Regions from separate parts of the Homo sapiens genome. Here region 1 is linked to region 2. The links are contacts of gene promoters, found by promoter capture Hi-C in blood cells and fetal thymus (Javierre and others, 2016). All regions are on one chromosome and are shown on one strand. The core of a region is centred on a gene start or on the middle of the fragment in contact, and the rest is flanking DNA. Distances in the headings are between cores, read along the strand shown. Region 1 holds the start of KRT2 (keratin 2). Region 2 holds the start of KRT84 (keratin 84).

What was found. Contacts are between HindIII fragments. The CHiCAGO score rates a contact against its expected background, and 5 or more counts as called.
Region 1: a fragment that was not itself captured here is called in contact with the fragment with the promoter of KRT84 in region 2 in 1 of 17 cell types (endothelial precursors); the score reaches 5.9 in endothelial precursors.

Annotation. Positions count from the first base shown.
Region 1 is chr12:52,647,693-52,655,041 of GRCh38, forward strand. KRT2 (keratin 2) reads right to left here and starts at 4,519. Exons shown (of 9, transcript NM_000423.3): 1 at 3,866-4,519; 2 at 2,647-2,861; 3 at 2,222-2,282; 4 at 1,315-1,410; 5 at 481-645; 6 at 38-163. The coding sequence starts at 4,450. The HindIII fragment of the contact is 747 bases long and covers 903-1,649 here.
Region 2 is chr12:52,384,031-52,391,436 of GRCh38, forward strand. It overlaps KRT84 (keratin 84), which reads right to left and starts at 1,622. Exons shown (of 9, transcript NM_033045.4): 1 at 1,010-1,622. The coding sequence starts at 1,555. The HindIII fragment of the contact is 9,508 bases long and covers 1-4,510 here.

The sequences.
Region 1 (7,349 bases), core at 26-2,525, 260 kb after region 2:
AACCTCCCGCCCCTCGCTGGACAGGGCTGGGCCTCACCTGCTTCTTCACATGTGCGATCTCCCCCTGCAGCCTCTGGATCACGCGGTTCAGCTCGCTGATCTCTATCTTGATCTCTTTCAGGCTGTCTCCATGTCTCCCGACAGTCACCTGGAGCTCCTCATACTGATATGGGGAGAAGAGGACAGTTTGCAAGGAAGTTCCAGCCTGGCTCACATTCCAGACTGACTGGAGTGAAGGAGAGCTGGTTACTGGTCCAGGGAGGGTCAACCCAGCTAAATGTCATGGCTGCATTCATGAGAGGTAGGGACTGTCTCACATGCCCAAAAGGACTTGGTGCCATTCTCAACATCCTTTCTTGGGAATGGTGCCCAACTACCATTAAACAAAAAACCAATAACCTTACTGTACACTTTCCAGCTGGGGGTGCAACCCAGCTCATGGCAGGGAGCTGTGGCTCTTCCTACATTCCCTCTACTTGCCTTGCTGTGGTACAGGGCCTCCGCTTCTTCCTTGCTCCTCTGGGCGATCTCCTCATACTGGGCCTTGACCTCGGCGATGATGCTATCCAAGTCCAGGTTGCGGCTGTTGTCCATGGAGAGGATGACGTTGGTGTCAGTGACACTCTGATGTATCTGGGATATCTCCTACAACACACAGGAAGGTCTGGTCATGACATCCTGCCATAGCTACAGGCAGACAGGAGGCCTCTGTCTCCCAGCATAAGGGAAACGCAGACCCTCAGACTAAGCATACACTAGGTGGGATGAAAATCATGTAACCGTCTACTCCTGGGCCTCTCCCAAGGTTGTCCTGAGAATTGTAGTGAGAGGCACCTGTATTTCTGAGCCTCCTAGTTAACATTCAGCACTTAAGCCAGTTATGGTAAGTGCCCCCAGACAGAAGCTTGTCCATGGCAAATACCTTAAATGGACTTCCTGTTTCAGAAATCATCTGTGCACCCTTGGGTTGGGGAGGGGGATAGGAGACAAATGCATTTTGACCTCTGAAGTACAGTAGGCACAGGAATGGGCACAGGGCTTGTCTCTTCCCCAGGGGAAATGGACATCTGGGGAATGGAGGGAGGGGAAGCTGTCCTGGTGTTTCCTGAACCTTATTCCCATAACATCGGAGGAGAAAATTCCTCACCCACAAGACCTATGCTATGAAAGCCCCCCCAGTGGCCTGGAATGATGGCAGATTGAAGTCAGCTGGTCCATAAACCCCACTTCTGCCACTTTTTCACCAAGCAGAAAGGACTTTCATTTGGTGAGAAGGGTGGGAAGTAAGGGACTGTCCCGGAGCAGCCTCCTTACCGCATCATAGAGAACTTTCAGAAACTCAATTTCCTGGTTCAGCAGGTCCACCTTGGACTGCAACTCCACCTTTATCATGTAGGCATTGTCCACGTCCTGCAAGAAAGGTTGAGGCCTCTGGTGTATGGTTCCCTGTACAGGCCTCTTCCTCTCTCTGCCACTCCCCTCTACTCAGTCCCTGCTGGCTCCTCTCTAAAATCCCAGGCTCCCCAACCTGATCCCTGTCCCCATGGGACTTCTTTTGTCGTGCAGTTTACCATACACCTCTGCCAGGGACTTCATGCCTACGTCCATGGCTCACAGCCCTCAGGACCATCAGAGCCTCGAGATGACCAAGCTTTGCCAACCAGCCCCTCTCTCCTGCTTGAGACACTGTGTGTTTCTACAACAGGATACGATGTTCTTTGTGGGTTTCCACAGTCCTCAGCTCTCTCATCCCGTCTGTCCATCTCACCTCTCCGAAATTTCCCCAGAATATACACCAAAGGCCCTGCAGGACCCAGCAGGAGAACCCTTGCTTTTGGCCTACAACCTCAAACCTTTGTCAGCACAACCAACAGCAACTTTAAGCAGGCATTCTAAGGGAAGTCCCATTCCTTCCTCAGCTCTTTAGAAGGAGAATACAAAGAGATTTTTGTGTTTGCATTTATCATGATTCAGTAGAGGCTTTAAGTGGGTTACTACTGGGAAGCACTCTACCAAAAATGCAGAACAGCTTTGAAAACTGTATCCAGAAGCTTGACCTACAGAGACAATTTTGTTTGCAAGAGAATGTGCCATGGGTCTCACTCCTTTCTCTGGCTGCTGCTTTTGCACTCACAGTTGATTTCCAAACTGGCTGCTTAGACACAATGGGGCTGTGAAGCACTCCTATCCCCACCCCCAGCCAAGACATTCTCTCGCTCACCTTTTTAAGCGTCACAAAATCATTCTCAGCAGCTGTGCGCTTATTGATTTCATCCTCATACCTATTGGGACACAGATGTTACAGCAGTTAGATTAGTTCCCCTTCATTTTTTTTCTTTTCCTTTTATACTGGATTCACCCCAAATGCCCCATTCTCTGGGAATATTACACACTTTTTAAATATCTAAATTGAAACTAAGATTTCCAAACTAAAGATATATTTTTATAAACTAACTCTCAAACATACAAAAGACAAAAATGATCTCTAAAGTCTCACTGTCTTCCTCACAAATAATCAACAAAGATACATATGCCTCTCCCCATTACCACCACAAATGCAACTGGGAGATGAATGGCTTTCCAGGGAGTGATCAAATGGCTCAGTGCAATGTTTATCTCCACTCAGCGTTTCACTCTGCCACCTACTTCTTCTTATAATCCTCCACAAGATCCTGCATGTTATTCAGCTCTGAATTCTGTGATGTTCTTTCTGCAGTGAGCCCATCCAGATATCTCTTGAGGCTGTCGATATACCCCTGGAAGATGGGCTCCAGGTTGATGGGGCGGGTGCCAACATTCATTTGTTGTAGCAGCTCCCATTTGGTCTGTAACACCTGGTTCTGCTGCTCCAAGAACCGCACCTGCCATGACCAGAAGGAGAGCACATGAGTTCTAGATCATCCTTCACACCAAGCAAGCCACGCTGGCCAGGGGCAGCTCAGGTGCTGCTTCAGGACCTCGAGAAGTGTCTGAGGCTGGATGCCGAGTCATGACTGGCAGAGCTTCTGAGCTCCCTGCTTTCGCCCCTGGAAAGTCCCACAGACTCCTAATGCTACATCCGGCTCTCTCCACGCAGAGGAGACTCTTTGCTGCTTCACTGCTCACTGGTTTGTTTGCAGCTGCTCCCAATACTCTAGACCATTTCCCTCCCCGCATCCTGGTTGAATTTCCAGCCAAGATCCCATAAATTCTGGGGAAAACCGAAAGCAGCCATCTGCTGGCACTGCTCGCAAGGGTGCTGAGTATGAGAGTCCCAGAGGGCAGGGCTCCTCAGCCTGATTTTTAAGAGCCTTGTAAATCCCTGCCTATTTCAAGGCAGATAAACCAAGACAGGTTCGTCTGCCTTGAAATAGGAGAAAAGCCAGTAACACTCCGAAGTGACACCAATAAAGACTTTATGGATCACAAAACTGAGAACGCTTCTCTTGAAGGCAGGAATTTCCTGCATTCCCAAGCAGATATTTCAGGTTCAGCTTCCCAGAGTTTAGTAATCACTGCTAAGGAAGGAAACACTATCTCAGAAGACGATGGCTTCCAAAACCTGCTGCTCCAGTGGCCTGTCCCAAGGATCAGTTCAATACTTGCCTATATCCATTTTTTATGGTTTTCAGAATTTTCCATAAATATTATTTATATGGACTGTAACAATAAGGTCAAAGGGACAAATGCTTCCTAAGTGCAGGCTGTTATGGGAAATGTAACCCACAAAGCTGGCGTCTTTTCCATCTGGAAACCGCAAATGACCCAGGCTACTGCGGTACACCACTGGCTCCTAAGAAATACAAATCTGTGCCATTTTCTTTTTGGTTGGCTCTGGAAGTGAAGTGGCCTGAGCATCAGTGGGAGCCGTCTTCTCCAGAGTCACCTTGTCAATGAAGGAGGCAAATTTGTTGTTGAGAGTTTTGATCTGCTCACGCTCTTGGGCCTTCACATTCTGGATCTCTGGGTCAACTTTCACGTTGAGAGGCTGCAGGAGGCTCTGGTTGACAGAGACTTCGTGGATGCCACCAGGGTATCCTCCAGGCCCAAAGCCACCAGGACCCCCTAAACCTCCAACACCACCAGGGCCCCCAAAACCTCCAAAGCGGCCTCCACCAAAGCCGCCTCCACCGAAACCACCACCACTGAAGCCGCTGCCACCTCCAAAGCTGCTGCCGCCTCCAAAACCACCTCCTCTGCCACCAAATCCACCAGCGGCGCCAAAGCCACCACCTCCTCCAGCCACACTAATGGAGATGCTCTTGGTCCCTCCAAGGCCAACAAGACTCCGACTGCCAAAGCCGCCTCCACCGAAGCCCCCGCCACCACCACCATGGCGGCTCAAGCAGGAGAAGCTGGAAGTTGATCTCCGGCTTCCACCAGACACCACAGCTGAGCCGCTGCTGAAGCCCCGGAATCCTCCTCCACCTCCTCCTCTTCCTCGAGATTTGCAAGAGATCTGACAACTCATGATGCCTTTGTCCAGGGAGGAAAGTCACAGGCTCTTGAGAAGAGTCAAGGCTGGAGACTCAACTGTGCTGCTGGGAGGCTTTCAGGGTCCCCTTATATACCTGCCAACTAGGTGTTGTGTACATGGGTGTGGATCCACTTATACGTGGGTTTGGTCTGCCTGGGAGCTATTCCTGGTGCGTGATTATCAAGCTAATAGCCATTAAAAATCTACTAATCAGCTCCATCCCAGAACTTGCTTTGATTGCAAACTTCTGTTTATCTGGGCATCTGTCATGCAATTTGATTTTTGTAAAATCATCAAAAGAGGAGATCAGGGTTTGGGTTTCTCAATCTGGAAAAGGACCTTCTGCAGAATGCTGCTCCCTGTTCTGGACCTGCCCAAGGGAAGTCAGCTACCACCCATGCTTGTGCAGGCTCACCACCCCAGTTCAACAATGAAAGGGATGGTGGGTTTAGAGACTGCAAGAGCCCCTCAATGCCAGCCTTGTAGTTCTCTTGTAGTTTCCCTCTTTCCCAGAAAGAGCCCCAACTAGTGCAGGGGAGACTGCAAAGGTCTTAAATGACCTTAAATGCTAATTGGAAATCGACCTCCTCTTACAGAAAGTAATTGGCCTCGGATACTGCAAAAGAGGTGTCGATTTTCAAAATATCTTGGCTCTTTTCTTCCCATGCCACACCAAAAATACACAATAACTAGGCACCGAATAGAGATTTTTTATAACCATGATGGTTTGTATAACCATCAACTGTCCCTTGTCTACATGAACACCCAGAGGTTGAGAGGTATGAGAAAAGTTTCGCTGTTTCTGGACCTGTGTGATGCGGGACACCAAGTGAAAGTTTGCAAACCAAGATCCAAGTGTATATTGATTCAGTCAGTCAGTAATCACGTATTGCCTGGTGATCCTGGGAAGTGATTAGGAAGTCAGGCTCTTCAATGACATCCACAGATGCTTGAGGATAAGAAGACCATCCAGCCTGCACAGAGCACTCACACTTAAACTCAACCACTTCCTCTGTCCATGTGGCCAACTATGTGGGAGAGGTTCTTGGAGTAATAAAACTGAATTTAGTCAGAAATTCTGGGTTTGAGTCCCAGTTTTGCTATTTATTGGCTGTGAGGCCTTGAATGAAACCCTGAGGCTCTGTGGTCCCAGCTATAAAATGGGAAATTCGTATGAAGTGTTTTGAAAACCACCGTGCACAATAAAATGTCAGTATCATTATTGTTTGGGGTGAGACAAAGATAATTCCTTTTCCTTTCCCCCTTGCCATGTTACTGTCTTCTGGCTACTATGAACATGCACTCTCCACAGGCATCATAAATTACAGAACCAGGTGGTTCAGATCCTAGTACCAAGTTATCACAAAATAATGTAAAAAACATAAGTTTGAGGTCAAATCCCAATTTTCTTGTATCTTAGTTAAATGACCTCAGATAATCCATAATCCTCTTCAAGCCTCAGTTTCCTCATCTATAAAAAGTGAACAAGAATAATAAGAATATGGCTACTGTGAAAACAGAACAATACACACATGTGCTAAACACAGTTCCTAGTTCATAGCAGAAACTCAATAAATGCTATTCACCCTTCTGCATCTTCCCCGCCAAGTTTCCAATCCTGTCTTAACTACTATTCAAGGTATTTAATTTGCAGTAAAAGAATGCTGAAGGAAACAAAGCTACATGTCTCCTCAATTATTTTTTCCAATCTGGTTTGCATAATTATAATCATGCAAACAAATCATGAAGCTAACAGCTTTGGAGACAGTCTCAATCCAAAGCAAAATGTGTCATTATCTACAGATATCTGAGCAATGCCCTAGTCGTCCCTTACTCCACCATGACTGTGCTCACACTATGGCAGCTTCAGGGGGGTCTTAATGCCTCTATGAAGGAAATTGAGCCAGATTTGTGCTAGGCACCCAATCTGCATGTTTTACTGCATTTTAATTCTGCCCTCACACCCTGGTCTCCCTCCCCACTCTCTCCACTGAACATCTTCTCCTTCTAGACCCATTCACCAATTTTTGAAAGTCAAGTTGAAAGAGTCCTCCTACTCTTTTGAAATGTGGAGACTAGAATTAATGCAATTTGAATATTATGTAACATTTTATTTCTATATTTTTAAATTTTCAACTTTTACATAATCTCAATGTGCTTTCCTAGATAATATGCTTTGCATTCTTTAAGAGAGTGAAATGGAAGTTAAGAATCTTGGTCTGGTTGTGATTTTGCCTCTACGCAACTGGTATCCTCAATTTCTTCATCTATAAAATAGGAATATTTATCCTGAATCCCTACTGTCCCACAAGGACATCGAGCTATTGCTGCAAAGAGTGTTAAGCTTCACTGTCTCTGAGAAGAGAACAGGAATCCTATAGAACAAAATCCTTCTTCCTGTTCCCCACTTTTTCTTTCAACAAACTGCCAGCAAGTCCAAGATCCTAAATGCTTCTCCTCATAGTGTTTCAAAAGCTCGTCTATTGGCCAGTGGGGCAGAAAAAATGAGCCCCCAGTATTAAGCAGAGAAGGGGTTAACTGTCTAGCCAACAGGAAATAAATGCTCAACCTAGTGTGGATGCTAACACCAGAGTCTCCAGGTAAGAATTCATTTCCCTCTCTTCTGTTCTCCTTTAGCAGTGGCGTATCTACCTGCCTTACAGCCTCATCATCACAGTCCTCCCTGTGTGACAATGAACCATGTCCCAGGACTTCTGTAGGGTAGAGGCAAGGTCATATTTATCTTTAACCCAAACCTTTATCCCCTCAGCACAGAGAATCACTTGAAGAATAAGCCTGTATTCCAAAAAAATCATTTCTCTGGTTTTTGGTTTGGAATTGCAGGTGTTTCCAGATGTGTGCATGTGATGCTGGCAATGCTTGAAGTCTTCGC
Region 2 (7,406 bases), core at 372-2,871:
GTACCATTCCCCTATCCAGTCTCTAAGAAAGCTGTACACTGGTACATCAGGAAGTTGGAAGGGTTGATTCTATTTAAGCTCTGGTTTGCCTATATCTGAAAACTGATGCCAGGCATCCCTGGCAGAGAATGGGGAGCAGAGTAAACTACATTTGGGGTGGGATATGGTACTGGGAGGTAGGAATTCTCAGATTGTAAGTCCTATCCAACATCGCAGATATTCCATTGGCTATGTGTAGAGCTGGAAGAGAACTTACAGACCCTTTACCCCAGCCCCTCATTTTAGAGAGGAAGAACCCAAAACTTACAGAGGTTATCCTTCATTCTCAGACATAACCATTCCATCTCCACATAGACATGGTGTGTGGGATGTCAGTTCTTTTGGGTTATCCACATCACTGTTCCCACTCATCTGCCTGGAAGCCAGTGACTACCAGTGGTCATTCCCTGCAATTTCCCTGAATCTAGGCAACTTGGCCGAATTTTGATACCCCATGTGGGGGTATGAATTCTTCTTCTTTTTTTAATTACTCAACTCCATTCTCTACTTTTCTAAGCCTGAATAGATGAGGCCACTCAGCCTCAGAAACTATGAAAACTTCATAAGGAACAAAAGGATCTCAAAGAATAAAACCTCTTAAGCATATACCAGCCAACACCTGGCTAAAGTCCCAGTGTTTCCAGCCTGTTTCAGAGACATTTCTAAGTGACCAGATGCAACATCTTAGTTTGTCGAGATGCCCTCGAGTTTGGCTGGATGCTCCTCTGTCCTCCAGAAGATATCAACACTGTCGGAATCTATCCCACCATGCAGCTCGTCCTCTGGCTTGGCCTTGCTCTGCAGCAGAGCAACCCATAAAGCATACCACAATGCCTGAGGTAGGCACTTGAAAGATCTGAGGTCAAGGTCAAGTCCCCAGAACCGGGCCAGTTCTTTTTAAGGGAAAGAGCACTCTAGCGCATTTTGGCTGTAATATTCCTAGACCCAGAGATTCAGCTATCATAGGTACCTTGTCAATGAAGGAGGCAAACTTGTTGTTGAGGGTCTTGATTTGCTCCTTCTCATCCTTCTTCACCCTCTGGGCATTGGGGTCAATCTCCAGGTTGAGGGGGGTCAGTAGGCTCTTGTTCACAGTCACAGCTGTGATAGATGGGGCTGCTGGGACTCCAACCCCTCCAACTCTGTAACCAAAGCCAGGGCCACCAAAGCCATAGCCAATGCCACTGCCAGCTCCAAAGCCCAGACCAACACAGCTGTCAGCCCTAGGCCCCAGACCAACACCTCTCCCATCACCAAAACCCATCCCACAGCCAGCACCAAAGCGGACTCCACAGTGGATGGGCCGAGAGCCTACAGCTGCTATCCGGGGTGAGTACGATCCAAAGGTGATGACACTCCGACTACCAAAGCTGCCAAGGCCCCGGAATCCAGGCCCACTCCAACAGGAGACAGAGTTGGCCCGGAAGCGATTCAGGTTCTGTGGTGTCATTGCTGAACAAGAGCTGAAGTTGCCCACCCGGTGACCAGAGCTGACTCGGTAGGAGCGGCAAGACATGATGGCTTCCTGGTTGGGAGCAAAAGAGCAAGTGTAGAATGGGTGAGCTGGAGCTGGGAGTCCCTCTGAGGCCAGTGGAACCCTTGCACCCCTTTTATGTGTGTGGTGATCTGAGGCTTGGCCCCATAAAAATGAAAAAATCCATTTGCAGGCATTTATGAGCTTGGGTAGTTAGCAGAAACTCTGCATGCCTATAACCTCCTTGACAATGAGTTAACTCAGACACACCTAGTCTCATTGGGATGAGGGCTGTAACAGCAAACCAATAAACATTAAAAACACATAAACATATAAACATTATAGTCTTTTTTTTCCCTATAAGTCTACCACAATTGCCATTAAGGGGACATTAATTTGCTTTGGTCATAAATGCAATAGGTTTTTTCACTGTGAGTGTGGCTAACCACCAGAAAGTTAGGATGGCGACAGCTCCAGCAAGAGGCTCACATGGGATGCATCCATGAAGATATAACCCCCTAAAGAGGTGGGAGTGTGTGCACATCTCCAAGTAAGAAGTGATATGGAGAAAATACAGTTTGTTGCATTTCTGCAAATCAATTAAATCATCAAAAAACCTTCTGCCATGTTTTATCCAATATGGCTGTTTAGTATACAAGAGTTGAATCTACAGTAAAGCTCATTTGGGCTAGTGTAGACACATCTGTGATTTGAGACACTCAGAGATATTCATTCATTCTACAGTTTTAGAGTGCCTGCTATGTATCCAGCAGTGTGCTTGCTGCTGAGGGTACAGAGATTACAAAGACAGTCTCTATCTTCATGGTAGTAGGGGAAGATTTATCTTAAATTTTTTTTTTTTTTTTAGAGACATGATCTAGTTGCCCAGGCTGGTCTTGAACTCCTGGGCTCAAGTGATCCTCCCGCCTCCGCCTCCCAGATAGCTGGGACTACAGGCATCCACCACCATGCCCAGCAGAACATTTATCTTGAGGATTTCCAGCAGTCAACACTTTGTGGCATGATTTGAGGCCAAAGCATTGGAAAGTTTCTGTATAGAAAGCTAACTACATGATTTTTAGCCCCCAAATATACCATAGGTGTGATTTATGGGCCTGTCCATTTAGGTTCCTTGAATTATTGATGAATCTTTGGTTAGGATAGAGAGACACAAAGCAATATACATCTGGATAGAAAAGGAAAAGTTCTCAGCAGCTGAATATTATCATTGTTAGCAATATTGCAGCTCTTTTAGGACCCTGAGCCAGGCTGGTGTTTACCTTTTCTATTCTAGTGCATCCTTTGCCCAGGGGAACTCATGTTTGACTGGACGCTTGAGATTCTTTGGGATGCTTGCAATTCCACTTGGAAGGGGATGTATGCTTTTGACCAGAAGCATCCAGCTCATTTGTGCGGTATTTTCTTTTTCCAGCTATCAGCTGTATGTCTAAGGGGGAAATGAAGCAGAAAAACAATAAGAAGTGCATACTTCTCGTCAAGACCACCAGTGGCCTCCATGTTAAATTCAATGGTCTGTCCTCAGTTCTCACTTTCTTCACATAGCTGACCATGCCCTTTCTCTTGAAACACGCTCTTCTTTTGATTTTCGGACACTACACTCTCTCGATTTCTTGCCACACTCTTTTCAGTCTTCTAAGCCAGTTCCTCCTCATATCCCCAACCTCTAGACACTGCAGAGTCCCTGGCTCAATCCTTGGGTATCTATTCTCTTCTTTAGACTCATTGCCTTGGTGATATTATACAGACTCAGGACTTTAAATACCATCTGTTCATTCATGACTGCCAAGGCACAACTCTATCCCAGACCTCCCTACCCCTAAACGCCACACATATATTTTAACCAACATCTCTATTTGGATATCAGATAGGCATCTCAAACTTAATACAGTTGTCCCTTGGTATCCCCAGGTAGTTGGTTCCAGGACCCCTTGTGGATACCAAAATCCATGGATGTTCGTCGAGCCTCCGATATACAATGGTGTAGTATTTGCATGTAACCCACACACATCCTTCTGTATACTTGAAATCATCACTGGATTATAATACCTAATACAATGTAAATGCTATGTAAATAGTTGTTATACTTTATTGACAAGAAAAAAGTCCGTACTTGTTCAGCACAGATGCAATTTTTTTAAGAGTTTCAATCTGCAGTTGGTTGAATCCACAAAGGTGGGAGCCACAGATACAGAGGGATGACTTTATGACCAAAACTGTTCTCCTAATTGTTCCTGCTAAATATGTTCCACTTGCCAACATCACTATCTCTGCAATAGTTCATGCCAGAAATCTTGGAGTCATCCTTTTGTCCTCTGTTTTTTATTTCCCTTTTCCCACATTCAATTCATTGGCAAATTCTCCCTTCAAAATATATCCAGACTCCTACTCCTTCTCACCATCCTGCTGCTCCCATGCTGGCCCAGGCCCATCTCTTCCCACAGGATCTTCTGAACTACACTCCCAGCTGGTCTCCCAGCTTCCTCCCTTGCCCCTTCAGGCTTTTCTTAGCAGCACAGAGTGATCCTTTAAAAACATGTCAGATCATGCCATTTCCATGCCGAAACTCCTCCCATGGTTTCCCACCCATTCAGAGTCAATGCCCTGTAAGACACTATGCAGTGTGCCTCCCTCTTCCCTGACCTCATCCCCTCCACCTGTCCCGCTGCCCACTCTGTTGCAGCCACTTGAGCATCCTGGCTGTCCATCAAACAGGCAGAATGACTCCTGCCTCGAATGCTTACCCCCTTGCTGTTTTCTCTGCTGGGAACCTTTTTCCTCAAATAGCTGTATGGCTGGGTCCCTCAACTCTTCCAGGGCTTTGTTCATATGTCATCCTCTTAGCTTCTATTGGAAACTCCCTGTCCTCCCTGTACACCTGCCCCGCTTCCTTGTCGCCTTAGCATTTACAGCCATCTGAGGTCCTCTTCTTGGGTGGATTTGCCTGTTGTTGTCGTTGACTTGTACTGGCTGGAGCAAAGCTTTAGGAGGCAGACACTGCTGTGCATTTTGCTCTCTGAGGGGTCCCCAGGACTCAGAGTGGGGCACATGGTGGGCATTCTGTATAGTTTCGTTGAGTGAATGGAAGAGGCTGTGAAGATTAAAAGCAGGAGGAGAAAGAAATAGGAAGTATGAAGAACAGGAATTTGGGCATTTGATTTTGCAGATATTTCGGGAAAAAGAGACTCCAAGTTCCCAAATGGACAGGAATGGCCCAGGAGGGGACGGTGGGGCAGAAACTCAAGAGCTCAAAGGAGAACCAATCCAGTTTGTCCCCCAGTTCCAGCCTCTTGGGGTTTGAGCCAGGCTGCTTGAACGAAAGGGCATCCCACTCCTCTGAGGCCAGGCGAGGGGTTCCAGGAGATTGGGGCAGGGGGACCAGAGGCTGTCTGGTGGAGGTGAAAGGGGAAGGGAGTGGGAGGGATGGCCTGCCTAGAGAACCCTGGTGGGGACCCAGAAGATGATATCAATTTTAGAGTCAGATGGACCTGGGTGAAACTCAGATTTGTCACCGACTAGCAGTATGATCTTGGATAGTGCTATACCAAGGGCAGGGTGGTGGCCAGGTTCTGCTGCAGGTGCAGGCACTAGGGGAACTTTTCTGCAGAGAACTTTAAAACCAACCAATCAGCTTATTAACAATTTTCAGCATGCATTGGCCATTCTAAATAATGGTAGTAGTCCCTTCCACCCCTATGGTATACCAATGACCTTGGGGAAATTGTTTAACCTCTAAGCCTCAGTTTCCTCATGTTAATATGGAATATTCCCTGTTTCATAGTATGATGAGGATTGACTAGGAAGTGCCTGGGATGTGCACTGTGCAGTGCCTGGCAGCTGCTACTGTACTCCATTCCTTTCCCTGGCTCTTTCCTCCCTCCCTTCCTCCCTTTTCTTCTCTGTTTTGCACAATCCTCCCTTCACTTCTACACAGTCATCCCTGTTCCCATCCACACCCGCCTCCTTCCTGCTCCCATGGCAGATGCATTCATACCCCATTAGCCATTCCTGTCCCATGTCCCAGCTTCCCTCAACCCTGATCAGGCTGGGTGGGGTGGGGGTAATTGTAATTGGGACCAGTCAAGCATAGTCCCTGCTCTGTGATGAACTGTCACCATCAGCAGTTTGCAGTTTGGAGGCATTATTTCGCCAGACGATGCATAACACAACCCTCAGTCATTTTTTAGGGGGTGGCAGGTGGGGAGAGGGGGCGGAGTTGCCCTGGCAACTTTGGGTAGGAGGTTTTGCTGCTGCAACAGTTTCTTCTTGCTGTTGTCAGTCAGCCTGAGTGTAACTCCAGAGACTTGCGGGCTGAGCCCAGGCTCCGTGGCTGCATTACCATGCCTGGCTGCTGGGTCATCAGGATCCTATCTGTGGAGCAGGGAGGAGGCAGAAACGCTGAGCAGAGGAAAGGGAGGGGAAGGGCTGCCTGAGGGAGGGGGACATCCTGGTTGGCCATGCAGGTTCTGGGAACGCTGTTTGCACTGTGGCTGGGTGTGTGTGTGGGAAAGGGGATGACAGGGGAAGCCCAGATTCTGAGAAGGCTTCAGAGGGCTTCTGTTTAGCCTGGGGACGAGTTTGTGCTGGAGAGAGGCACTGGCTGGAGAAGTTTTCATGCTAAGACCTGCTCCTGCTGGGAAAGGAAGCTTCAGAGTCCCCCCAGCAGGGGTGGGGGTCGGGGGGCAGGGGGTGTGTGTGAGAGGCTAGGTCCACCCTTGCCAGTACCTCCTCCTCTCTCCCCTCTCAGATGAATGAACACGCCTCCCCACGGAAGATAAAGCACCCCCTTCTTGTTTTCTACCCACCCCTCTCACTTCTTCCAGGAAGGATGGTTTTTTCAGGTTTAATGCGATGTCTCACATGGCCCACATGGTTGTCACCTGTCCAGAGTGAAAATGTTGCTCCTGGTAGACATCTAGTTCAGTTTGCTTCAACACACCTTTATTGGTTGCTAATGTGCGCCTGGCATTGCACTTAGGTGCTAGGATGGCTAGGACAGCCTCTTCCAGGTTCAGCGACTCCAAGCACCCCCTCCTCTGCTCAGGGTGCCATTTCTAGAGCCATTTTCCCAATTCCAGCCCCTGCCAGGATTCTTTCTGGGTACTTGGTGACCCTGGCTGGAGTGTGGCAATCGTGGGTGGACCTGGGACCACAGATGTGACTGGTGTGAGGAAGGGCCATTAGGGGCAGAGTCACCCAAGGGAGGGGCCAGGGGAACAAGGAGGAGCTGTGTGGGAGGGAGAGAAACTCTGGTGAGCACTTGAAAGCTTCAGGAGGAAGAGGGCCAGGAAATGGGAGACTTTCTGTGGAGACAGACACAGAAATACAGAGCTCCAGTTCAGGTCCCCCCAGCCTCCCTAGGCCTCTCTGGGTTGTTCCCCATCCTATCCTCACTGGCACATTCTGGAGGGGCTGGGATTAGGAGACTCCAGGCCAAGCCGAGTACAGTGAAACTCTGGCTTCATGCAGACGGTTCTCTTTCTCACCAGGGCAGGGGGCCGGGGCCTGTTCCTACTGTATTCCAGCACCCATTGCAGGGCTGACCCCAGAAGACACTCAGGAGGTGTTTGCTGTGTTGAATGGAATGCAGACATCCCAGCCACCACCAGGAGGCACATCTGTCCCGCCTGTTTTGAATGTCTCCTCTCCTGGGGAGGAAGGGGGAATGGGGACACAGCTGCACGATGCTGGGGAGTCCCTGGTGGGTGTCCTGGAGGGGGTGCCCTGGTCTCTGTGCTCACATCCAGGGCTGAGCGTGGGAGCACACTCCTGGGATGAGCAGTGCTTATGGGATGACTCCAGGCAGCCTCCCTGCCCAGCAGACACTTATCAGGGGCCAGGCACTCTGGAACCAAAATCCCAAAAGGGTGGTTAC